Linked DNA regions of Homo sapiens: region 1 is linked to region 2. Evidence: promoter capture Hi-C in 16 types of primary human blood cells and fetal thymus (Javierre and others, 2016). All regions are on one chromosome and are shown on one strand. The core of a region is centred on a gene start or on the middle of the fragment in contact, and the rest is flanking DNA. Distances in the headings are between cores, read along the strand shown. Region 1 overlaps FGF12 (fibroblast growth factor 12). Region 2 holds the start of ATP13A4-AS1 (ATP13A4 antisense RNA 1).

Region 1 (5,667 bases), core at 876-3,375, 1.1 Mb after region 2:
AGACCTGGGATAATGGCTCACAGAACTGAAGCTAAGCACTAGGCTTGGATGAGCAATGAGATAGGACAAGTTGATGTTTCATGCCTAGGTGTGGTCTTGGAGAAACAACGGACAAAGTCATCTGGGACTAATAAGTGAATTAAGATCAGGTTTAGAAAAAAAAGATCAAGTTGGCATAGTCTTTACCAAGGTTTCGAAGCGGCACTAGGAACAGCTCCCAAGGGCTGTGATTGTTATTAGTTACTATGGTTGCTATGAGGAAGTAGAAAATAATAAATGCATCTAGCTGTAGCCAACAAGTAAGAAAAGTGAATGAGGTAGGCTAGTTCTTAGGCAGTAGGGGATTTGGAAGAAATGTGACAAATATGAAATCACAGCACTTTCCAAATGGGGAAATTAACCAGCTACTACTCAGCTCCAGCCAGTTGGTTCTAGGCAGGACTGCAGGCTCAATGTTACTGGATCTTCCAGAAAATAATAATAATAATAATAGTAAAACAAATCCAAAGATGCAGGAGGAAATCCAGATATTTTAAGTGAAATCTCATGATTTTAATAATTTTGGCAACTCAAATTAAAACATATAAAACACACTTGTAAACACAGTCTTGGCTCTAGTTCCTTTTAAGACAGTTTTGGCTCTGAATAAAAGAGGTCGTATCCTTGTCCATCTATGAGTGTTCAGTGTTTATTCATGACACATCTAGCCATCTTACCCACTGTAGCCTGATGTTCTCAAAATATAAATTATATCATGTTTGTCTACTGCTTGTACTCCTCAATGTCTTCCCATTCCACTCAGAATGAAAGAAGAACACTTTAACATGGCCTTCAAGGCCCTGAACAGGGTGTCTTGCTTACCTCTGTGACCTTGTCTCATGCTCTTCTTCCTCCTGCTCACAATTTTCGAGCCACAGTATTCTTCTTTTACTTCCTAGGCTATGCCAAACTTTTCCGACACTAGAGGCTTTTAATTTTTTGTTCCCTCTTCTGCAACATTTCCCCTTGCCATCCGTGTTCACTCTTTGTTTTTACATGGCTCATTCTTTCATCAAGGCCTCATCTGAAGCAATATGCTCTCCAAGAGGCTCCCACGGATGATTATTTAATACCAACTGGTCCTCCCAGTTACTCTGTTTGCCACAGGACCATTCATACACTGAATGCAATTTGAATTAAAAAAAAAACTATTTGCTTTCATGTTAATTATCTGTCTCACTCATTTGAGTGTAAACTACTTGAGGATAAGAAACGTCTGTCTTGCTCATTGATATATAACTCCAGTGTCTAACACACAGGAGGCATTCAATAAATATGAATGGATGGATCACTGCATAAAAGGACTTGAAAGGCTTATGTCCTGGATGTGTTGGTTTGGTGCTGTATTCTTTGGACCTAGATCTTCTGGAGCAGTGTTCCTCGAACTTAGGTAAAGGACTCACTTTTTATAATGAAAAACCGTATTAATGGCCATCCACTGTCAACTTAGGTTATTTTTACTACGTATTATATATGCACGTATATGGCATAAAATTCTCTTGTTTATAGTGCGTACAAAATGATGAAACTAGATAATTTACAAATTAAATTATAAACAAGTCTATACAGAGACAATTCAATCTAAATTAGCAATATTAATTTAATGTTTAATGACATAAAATTATCTCAGTTCAGATGCAGTTATATATTTAATGTTTCTATGCTTTTATTTCAATAATACTTATACAGAGAATCTGTTCACATAAGTATGTTGAATAAAATTATATTACTAATTTCTTGGTTTTTTTACTTAAGGGTAATTAGACTTCATACTTAACTAAATGTTTGCCTGCTAGAAATCCTAAAATGCTAAATGTAATGATATCACTAAAAAAAATTTTGGAAGACAGTTAATAAGACAGCATTACTGAAAACTACATTAAAATGTTTTATCAACTAATTGCTGGAATTGGGAACAGATAAATTTCTTGTTGAATATTTGCTATTTAGTCTTACTATGAATGAATTATTCTAACAATGGTATTCCTAGAGCTGGGATTTCTGAAAGACGTATGCCTGCTAAGTAAAATGTCTTCTTACTGTCGAAGCATTAATATTTAACTTTTCAAAAGTCTGGTGATTACTCCATTTTCTCAATTTGAACTACCTCAAACAATTATTTCTTCAATTCACAGTGATTTAATCTTAACTTTATTGGAGTGAAACATATAATACAAACCAGAAACATTCGTTTCAAAATTTTGTGGCAATAATTAGTCTCCATAAAGTCAATAAAGTCATTGCTCAGATGCCTTAGAATATGTCTACTTCTAAATAATAGATAAACATACTTATGCACACATGCACACCTGTTTATAGATATAATACATACAGATAGATGGATGTTTATGTGTATACATATAAAATTTAAAATTTTAAAATTTATGTGTACACATATAAAATTTAAAATTTTAAAATTTATGTGTACACATATAAAATTTAAAATTTTAAAATTTATGTGTACACATATAAAATTTAAAATCCAGGCATTGATTATGGAGGGTGGGGCTGTAGACCAATCTTGAAACATGTAGACTTAAATTAAAAATACAAATAAAGAGATGAAACTCCTAGAAAATGCATTGTTGTCTTTGAACTGAGCTCTGGTCTAGAAAATAGCCAACAAGTTGCACAGTTCCGGGAGCACCATTCACATGGCTTTCTGGAATTGTGTTTCAAGAAATTACATTTCATATAAATACAATGGAAATAGTGCCCTTTGGGCCTGTGCAATGTGGGCCTGTCGATTCAGCCTGGGAGAGTGCATAAGGTCCGCCCACCTTTATGGCAACTGTCCTCTCTTTTCACCCAGAGAAACCTGCTCTTCTCCTATACTACCTCTCACAGCCGATCATTCACTTTGGCAACAGTTTAAATGATAATTCCCTCTTACAGAAATATTCACATCCTAAAAGTTAACTGCTGTATATTATGAATATGTCAATAATAGAATAATAAGGTAGAACAACAGGCTGTATTTTGCTTTTTGTGGGGATATGCGAGCTGTAATCAGCATATTTTATCATGCACTGACTGAAGGGTCTGTGTGGAATTTCAGAGTCTATGTTTATATCAGGTTCTAGAGCAAGCTCTAGATTAATACAAATTGATGTTCTTTTTTTTTTTTTTTTTTTTTTTAGGAAAATGGAAGGATCTCTATTGGATTAAAAGAGCATCCAGTTGTTGAGTGTTCTTTTGCATAGAGATCAGAATCTTTGCACCTAAGTGGTGATAATAGAGAGTACTCTCTCAGAAAAACACTGGCTTTAACAGTATCACCTGTCCCCAAAGTGCCCTTCTCTTTGATTCAAGACCAAAATAGAGTTTGCTATTTCATCTACTTAACTGGGCCTCTGTGGCTAGTCTTCATTGCTATCAGGGATAAAATCAGTTCCCCAATCTTTCAGGCTCAAATTCTTGGATTTACCTTTAATATCCTACAATTTTTTTTATATTGATCAGTCACATATAATTAACATTTGTTCTTTATAATGTATATTATGCCACAAGTGACTTCTCAAGAGCATAATGTCTCCTTCATATGTACAGCAATACGCCTGTTAAACCTTACAGCAATTTTTATTTTCTATTGATGTGTGGCACAGCCCATGTGATTGTTAGATGGGTTACTTCTCTACCTTTACCACAAATAAAATACATTTTTTTTCTTCTAGGGTACTGCTTATATATTTTTTCTAGCTGGAACGCCTTTCCACTTCCTTTTAATGCATCCAAATAGTAACCTTCCTTCAAACTCCACCTCAGCTACACTTCTACTTGGCAATTCATGCTGGAATGATCATTCTCTGCTTTGAATTCTTCTCTCATTTACACAAATAGCTTGTAACACGAATTCCCCTATACCATATTTTCTCCTTCTATTATTTTCGTTTATTTATTGAACTGATATTTACTATAATATTTGTGAATTATCTCATTTTAGCATCTTGAGGAAATAAAACCGTATCAGGCATAATTCTGTTCATAAAGCCTTTACACTTCAGTAAGAGACATTAGACATTTTTTTTACGTGTGGCTGTTGTATAATACGTTTTCATTTTGTTTGGTTTCGCTTTTAAGAGCAAGCAAGTTACAAATCAAGGGCTGTGGAAGTTTAGAGAATGAAGGATGACAGCTAGTGGTGGTATATGAATCCCCAGGAAAGAGGGGGCATTTGAACTGGGCTTTAGGTATAGTAGTCCATTAAAAAAATTGTAAATAGTAATAATGTATTAAAAGACATAGGTAGATGTTAGGTAGGCAGAGAAGGAGTATTCTTCAAGGAGGAATAACAAGAGCCAAGATATGTAAGTGGCTAACATAAGGGGTGCTGAGAATGAGGTGTCTAGGAATGCTGGACGGCAGGGTTACTGGCATGCAGAACTTGTAAAGATGAGTAGTAGGAGGTGAAGCTGGAAACATATATTGAAGCCAGGTTGTAAGTTGTAGAAGACTATAAATTCTATTCTAAAATATTTGGACTTTATTCTTCAGACAATGGAAAGTTGGCAGCCTCGAACAAGGAAATGAATCAGTGTTTTACCATGCACATTTTATCTTTCCAACTAGGTTAAATACTATTCATTTTGTGGAAATCATATGTGAATAATAAATATTTTATTAAGCTTTTTTATATTATCTAATATCATCCTTTTAATAGCTTTTGAAAATTTTATTATTATTTTGTTTTACTGCTGAAGGGAGTGCCTCAGAAAGTTTAAGTAAACAGCACAAGATCACACAGCTAAAAGGCAGAGAGGAATTTAACCATGTCTCAAGATTCATACTCCATGCTGTTCTTTTTTTGTTTTTTGTTTTTTGAGACGGAATCCCGTTTTGTTGCCCAGGCTGGCGTGCACTGATGCGATCTTGGCTCATTGCAACATCCACCTCCCAGTTTCAAGTCATTCTCATGCCTCAGCCTCCTGAGTAGCTGGGATTACAGGCATGTACCACCACGTCCAGCTAATTTTTGTATTTATATTACAGACAGGTTGTCTCCATGTTGGTCAGGCTGGTCTCGAACCCCTGACCTCAAGCGATCTTCCTGCCTTGGCCTCCCAAAGTGCTAGGATTACAGGCATGAGCCACCACGTCCGGCTCATACTGTTTTTCTTTACCACGGTACCTGTTCTCTTCTCTGTTGACTTTTTAGTTTTCCAGTAAAAGCTTAGGTTATCATTTAATAAAATAATCTTAAATAATATATGAATATGTTTATATTTTTTCTCATACACATTTTGCTTAGTTCTTTTCAAATTCTAAAACACTAAGGTTGCAATCTCTTCTATGATTGAGGTTCAAAACTCAAACTTGGAAACTCATAGTGATCCCAATAATGAGGTGCAATGTTCTTACCATTCTCAGCAGTGATAAGGTTGGCTTGTGATAATGACATAGTAGCAAACATTGGGCCCAGGAGTCCCCATTAGTTACTATTCCTAAAAATCATCTTATCTTCTTCATGTGACTCTTCTTTACTTCTTCATATTTAGACAAATAAAAATATGCTTGAATACCCAGCAGTCTTTAAGGTTCAGTTTATTATTCTCTGACTATAGGCTCTGTGAACAATTGAGCAATACATGTTGCATAGTGGTTAGGATACTTTTGGGCAGAATTTCAGAA
Region 2 (6,154 bases), core at 3,261-5,760:
TGCCAAATAAATGTGTAGAAGAGGTATTAGTCCAGTAACTAGGATCACGGATTGGGAGAGCTGCATTGCCTAGGTCCGAATACTCATTCTGTCACTTACTAATGGTTTGAATGTAGGCAAATTACTTAATGTCTGCACCTGTGTTTCCTTGTCTGTCAAATAAGAATGACCAGAATAGTATCAACCACAGAGGCTTTTGTCAGGATTGTGTGCAACAGTGAGTGTAAACTGTTTAGAATTGTGCCTCATATGTGGAAGTGTTCTGTAAATGTTCTCTTTGCTTTCCCACACAACCTAGCCCTGTTTCTGGTTATGGTTATGTTTGTAGACCAAAATCACTAAATGAGGGTGAGTGCTGTCCATAAGCAGTGTTGCCATCGATAAAATCTAGATGTTTTACCAATAGAACTCCCAAGGAACCTGAGGAAACTCTCTCACTACTGGAGTCCTCAGCTCTATTGAACCAGGTTTGTGGAAAATAATTTTCCATGGACATCTGATTTTTATAAAAGCTTTTAATGTTCTTAAGGACTTACATATTTTCCTGTTCAAGTTTAGCTTAAATATTGTAGCAGCATGACCTGATTTATTTGATGGGGTAAGTTTGTGTACAGTTTCTCCTCTAGCTGTTAATCAGTTACACACTCATCTCAATCCCACAACGGTGCAAGAGTTGCCAAGTGCATTCAGGAACCCAGCCAAAAGGAAACTGCAAATATTGCCAGTGATAAACAGGAGAATGAATTACTTCTTTCTCACCTGCCCAGGAGCACTGATATAGTTTCACCACGTCACATACTAACACTCCTCAACCTCCATCAGTTGAGATGAAATTTGGAATATGCTTGTTTTATATTTTTTTCTGTACTAAATATATAATTACTGCCTAGTAAGGCTGTTAAATGTTCAGTTAGGTTTTTTTGAGGTATAATTTTTTATTGAGGTATGATTTTTAAATTTGTTATATCTCTTCATTGAGATATAATTCACATTTCATAAAATTCACCCTTTTAAAGTATAGAGTTCAGTGAGGTTTAGTATGTTCACAAATTTTTGAAGCCATCAGTAGTTCTAGAACATTTTTATTACCCCCCCCATAAACCCTTTACTCCTTATATTTTGACCTTGTGATAAAATGTTAATTTTATTTTCATTTATTTGGTTAAATTGTGCTAGCAAATTTTTGAAACCAAGAGAACTACATATATATATACACACACACACACACATACACACACACGTACATATATATTTTGTAATTACTATTACAATGGGTTTACTTAGCTTACTTTTTATGTTTATCCTATACTTCACTATTTGCTCAAGGTTTTACACATACAACATATACACACACACACATGCACACATTGATCTTGGTCACATTAGGGTTATTTGGGTCAGGTTGGAGATATCATTGCCAATGTAGCTTGAGGGACAGACAGTGGACATGGTGAAGGTAAAAATAACTATCTTTTGTGGAACACCTATTATTTCCCAGGCACTCTTTCTTAAAAGTCTGTTTTAGGACGTAGGTTCTATTATCATCATCTTTATGTTACATGTGAGGAAATAGAGGAGAATGGAGTTTGTATAACTTGTTATATCCCAAGGTAGCACAACGACCACCTAGTACAGTCCAAATTTGAACTCAGGCCTTCCAAATTTAGTGTATATGCCCTTAGCCACTATGTCCTAACACCTACTGTTCAAATGCACATTTAGTTTAATAATCCTAACAGCACTTGATCAGTGCTGTACAATGTACTTTCACAATGATCTCATTCCATTCTCTCAAAAGTCCTGTCGGGCGGTACCAGATGAGAAGAGCCGGTTCCTATAGTTAAATGATCACACAGCAAGGCCAGTGCAGACAAGCAGCTGGAATACAGGTATTTTGCCAGAGCTAGGGTAGGGGTGTGTTTCTCTACACCACATTGGGACTTCTGACAGTTTTCTTAGACTTCTGTTCCATCTCTTATAATAACAATCCACTTTCTATCATATTTGTTTGGATGTTTGAATCCTTACATCAACACGAGGGTAGCAAATATGACTTAACTTTTTTAGGTAGTCCCTGTGCTCAGGCACTGTTTATTGAATAAATGTGTAAACAAATTAAAAAAGAGTCTGGCCATATAGTCATTTGAATATTTTATTTCTAGACTTCCTTAAGTGTTGAACCATCAATATTTTAGTGAAAGGAGACTACATAGACTAGTTTGATGATACCTTTGTTCTTTTTCTACATGTGTTTCAAAAAAGTAAACTTAATTTCACATACACTTTAAATAGAATTTTTTTTGCATATACAAGGAAATGTGATTACAAATACCTTTTGAAGAGGATTAGTGATAATCTGTACCTTTTGTAAGCAAAATGAATGAGAGTACTATTAGAAACCTGTGGATTGAAGCTTTCATTCATCAAAGAAAATCTGCAGCTCTGTGCGCTTCCGCTCAACCCAATTCCTTAGGTCCTCTGAATAAAGCAGTGACCTGGGAGTTCTTGCACCCGCTCCTCACTCCTGAGAAGGGTCCTGCCAACTCTGTATTGTCCTGTTGGATTTGCAGTCAGAAGTCTGAGGCTGGCAGGCACTGGGCAGGCAATGAGTTCTTTCCCTGTAAGTTGGGCACAAAAAGATCGGCATGGGAGCAGCCTCCTTTGAGACAGCTGCTCTGAGAGAATGCAATAAGCAGGGAGCAGCCAGCAATTCCTCCTAGCAGAGGGCGACTCGTGGGAGGAGTTCAGTTTGCCAAGTATTGTCATTTGTTGAGAGAAGGTGTGTGCTCAAGGAGGAGTTTTAACCTGGAGGATCATTAACTCTTTTAGTCAGCTGAGGAGCTGCGGTGGCTCGGCGAGTTGGAGTTCATCCTGGAAGCGTCTGCACGACAAGGTCAGGGAGGAGGTGTGGAATAACTTTTTCATGGGACACTTTGAGAAGGGCCAGCACGCTCTGCTCAATGAAGGAGAAGAGAATGAGATGGTAAGATTCTAGCCACATTCCCTTCTTCCCATCCCACTTCTCAGCCTGCGAGACACACACACACACACACACACACACACACACACGCACGCATCACACACACACAGACTTTTCTAAAATTTCACTCTGGTATTACACGAGAAAAGGTCATGTTTGAGAAATCTCTCTATCCTGTAAATATAACCTCTGACAGCAGAAATTTGCTAGAATGAAAATATTGTATTCATCTTGTCAAGAATGTTTTCTTTTTAAAGAAAACAGAGAGGGAGAGAAGCACCATGCACTTTATGATTCTTGTTTGAGCCTCATTGGTATAGCCAGTTCTGTTCAAAACACCTAACAATTTTAGGAAATCCCTAATGTGAGGAGCAGTGTATTCCCTGATAGGAAGAAGCAGAAGTTCAGCAGTGAAGCAGAAGTGCAGCTGGGTCTTTGACCTTCTCTTCTCAAATGTCTTGTTCACCGAGTCTGTTGGACAGGGAAGACATGCAATATTAACAATTATCAGCCTACACACATTTCTGTTTTCTTCTAGAATTTTACTTTTGTGGCTTCCTCATTATAGAGATTGGTTACAGAAAACTTTCGGTAGTTCAGTATCTCTTTGATTTTAGATGTGCTTCTATCTTGAGAACTATAGGAAAATCAAAGATGACTTTCATGCTCAGGATGAATTTAAAACTGTATTTCTCAATTACAATATAATCAAGAGAGAGTTAGAAATATGTACTTCTGTTTAATAAGATCTTTCTGCTAATTGTGTAAGCATAGTCTTTTATGCCAGTAATGATGTAATTAAAATGTTAAAATGTGACGCTCTCATTCCATAATAGCATTTAATCTTCCTGGAATTAATATGTAAATAACAAACCTGAAAGATATTTACTTAAAATGTTTTCTTGGTTAATTGCTTTAGCCCTGACTATTACATTCTTTGTTCCTAAACTGGTCTTTCAAGTCTAATCTGCTTACCTGTTCCTATAGCAACAACATTTTTTGGACTTTCAAGAGTAGATCCCTTCTGCTATCAAAGCTGAAAAAATTATAAAGAAGTAAAATGTACATTAATTCAGGTGCCTTTCTTAACCATATCCTTTACTTCATTCAGATTTGACTGCCAAATGAATTGCCTTCAGCCCCTCCACAAATGTCACCAGAAATGGCTTGCTAGCCCACATTGGATATCATCTTTGTTTCTTTAAAGAGTTTTCTTTAGGAAGTGAATATCTCATTACTCTCGATATTAAGTTGAAAAGTTTATCTTCATCTTGAATACTCTTCACCAGAAGGCAGGGGCTCCTTCCTCTGAAACATTTTTTTTCTCTCTCATTTAGAAATACACTCACTCTTTTCCAGTAAACCCCTTTCTGCTCTCAGACAATTTGTCTTTCAAGTCTCAATAAGAATCATTTATTTTCCAGAAGACATTCATGGTTGTAGGGAAACTGTTACCTCTTCCCTAGCATACATATTCCACCAAAGCAATTTAGTTAACAGTTCATCTTCATAATGGCACCATCAGATGCATGGAGAACTCCACGTAGTTTTGTATGCAGCTGAAAGCCCAGTTAGGAGAGGCCCTTTAATATGGAAAGGGACACTGTGTTTTCTGGTAGGCAGCCATTTGGCCAGTAGTCTCAGCAGAGGTGCAGCAATTAGTATGCACTCCTGAGCTCTCCATCCTCTTCTGCCTACAGAAACCTGGCCACCTGCCTGTTGCTGTGTCTGACACTGTGTTCCTTTTTAACTCACTCCTCCATCCCTTGCCCAGAGCAGTAAACTTTAAAAATTATCAAGCTATATATATAGTCTACATATTTTGTAGTGATTTTTAGTATACACAGCATTTTCTTGGCCACTAGCTAATTTAGTTTTCCTCACAACCCTATGAGGTAGATGCTGTGATTCTAACTTTAAAGATGAGGAAATTGATGCACACAGGCTTTCCCTAAGGTTGCATCAACCAGTAAGTCCAGGAGCTGAGGCACCGCACAGGTTAGTTTAAGTTGACAGCTCTTTTGTCTCTGGACCTGAACATAGCCCACTGATACCTTTTCCAGTTCTTCCGGAGAACATTCCACTCTTAACAGAACACATTCCCTTCCTTCATAAAACAAAGCTAAGGAGAACATCAACATCCAGTCTTCTTAGATTCCCCAGCATCTGTTCTGTTATAGATAATTTGAGTTTCTTTTTTCTTCTAGATAATTCGAGTAGCTTAAATAAGTCTGTCTTCTCTGACTTCCAAGTCCAGAAATGTGTCACACCAAAGTGTTTAGTTTCATGCTTTATAATATACTTTACTTGAACCTTTGCAAACGTAATTTCTCTTGTGGTAGAAATTACTTCAAATTTCAAGAGAAAACAACATGCTAGGGTTTAGACCTCATGTCAAATAAAGAAGAATATTCTGAGGCCTAAAGATGCCTGGGATTATCTTCCATTTTGGAGTTAAAAAACCAAAAACAGGCTGGGCATGGTGGCTCGTGCCTGTAATCCCAGCACTTTGGGAGGCCGAGGCGGGCGGATCACCAAGTCAAGAGATTGAGACCATCCTGGCCAACATGGTGAAACCCCATCTCTACTAAAAACACAAAAATTAGCTAGGCAGGGTGGCGTGCACCTGTAGTCCCAGCTACTTGGGAGGCTGAGGCAGGAGTATGGCGTGAACCTGGGAGGCAGAGGTTGCAGTGAGCCAAGATCGCGCCATGGCACTCCAGCCTGGCAACAGAGCAAGACTCTGTCTCAAAAATAAGTAAATAGATAAAAATAAATAAATAAACAAGTAACAAACCAAAAGCAAACAGGAACTAAAGAGCAACCCTAGGTGACCTGAAAATAATATCTTTAACTGCGAAATGAGACAGGACCCAAAGGTAGAAAGAAGCTTTTGGAGGGAGAAGGAAGGAAAGGTGAGAAAGTGGCCTTCAGCGAAGGTTCACCTAAATGACTGCCTCAGAAAGGCTTCGAGGAGGAAACTCTGGGAGAGCACTGGGACGGGACGGGAGGCCTGGCTCTCACCGGCCTTGGGCCAGCCGCTTGCCTGCTCTAGCCTCAGTTTTTATACCTGTAAAATAGGACTGGTCCTTCTTACCCCCACCAGACTCACAGAGTTCTCATGAAGATCAGTGGAGATAATCCATATAAACATGTTTTGAGAAGTAAACAGTT

Evidence for each region. Contacts are between HindIII fragments. The CHiCAGO score rates a contact against its expected background, and 5 or more counts as called.
Region 1: a contact is called between a fragment that was not itself captured here and the fragment with the promoter of ATP13A4-AS1 in region 2, in 1 of 17 cell types (total B cells). The highest score is 5.0, in total B cells.

Annotation. Positions count from the first base shown.
Region 1 is chr3:192,481,826-192,487,492 of GRCh38, reverse strand. All of the region lies in intron 2 of FGF12 (fibroblast growth factor 12), which reads left to right. Among named protein-coding and RNA genes, the nearest start is that of FGF12-AS2, 30 kb to the left of the region's middle. The HindIII fragment of the contact is 5,083 bases long and covers 1-4,666 here.
Region 2 is chr3:193,551,569-193,557,722 of GRCh38, reverse strand. ATP13A4-AS1 (ATP13A4 antisense RNA 1) reads right to left here and starts at 4,510. Exons shown (of 2, transcript NR_121666.1): 1 at 4,436-4,510; 2 at 2,139-2,953. It overlaps ATP13A4 (ATPase 13A4), which reads left to right and starts at 2,828. Exons shown (of 30, transcript NM_032279.4): 1 at 2,828-2,983. The coding sequence starts at 2,924. The HindIII fragment of the contact is 3,457 bases long and covers 2,416-5,872 here.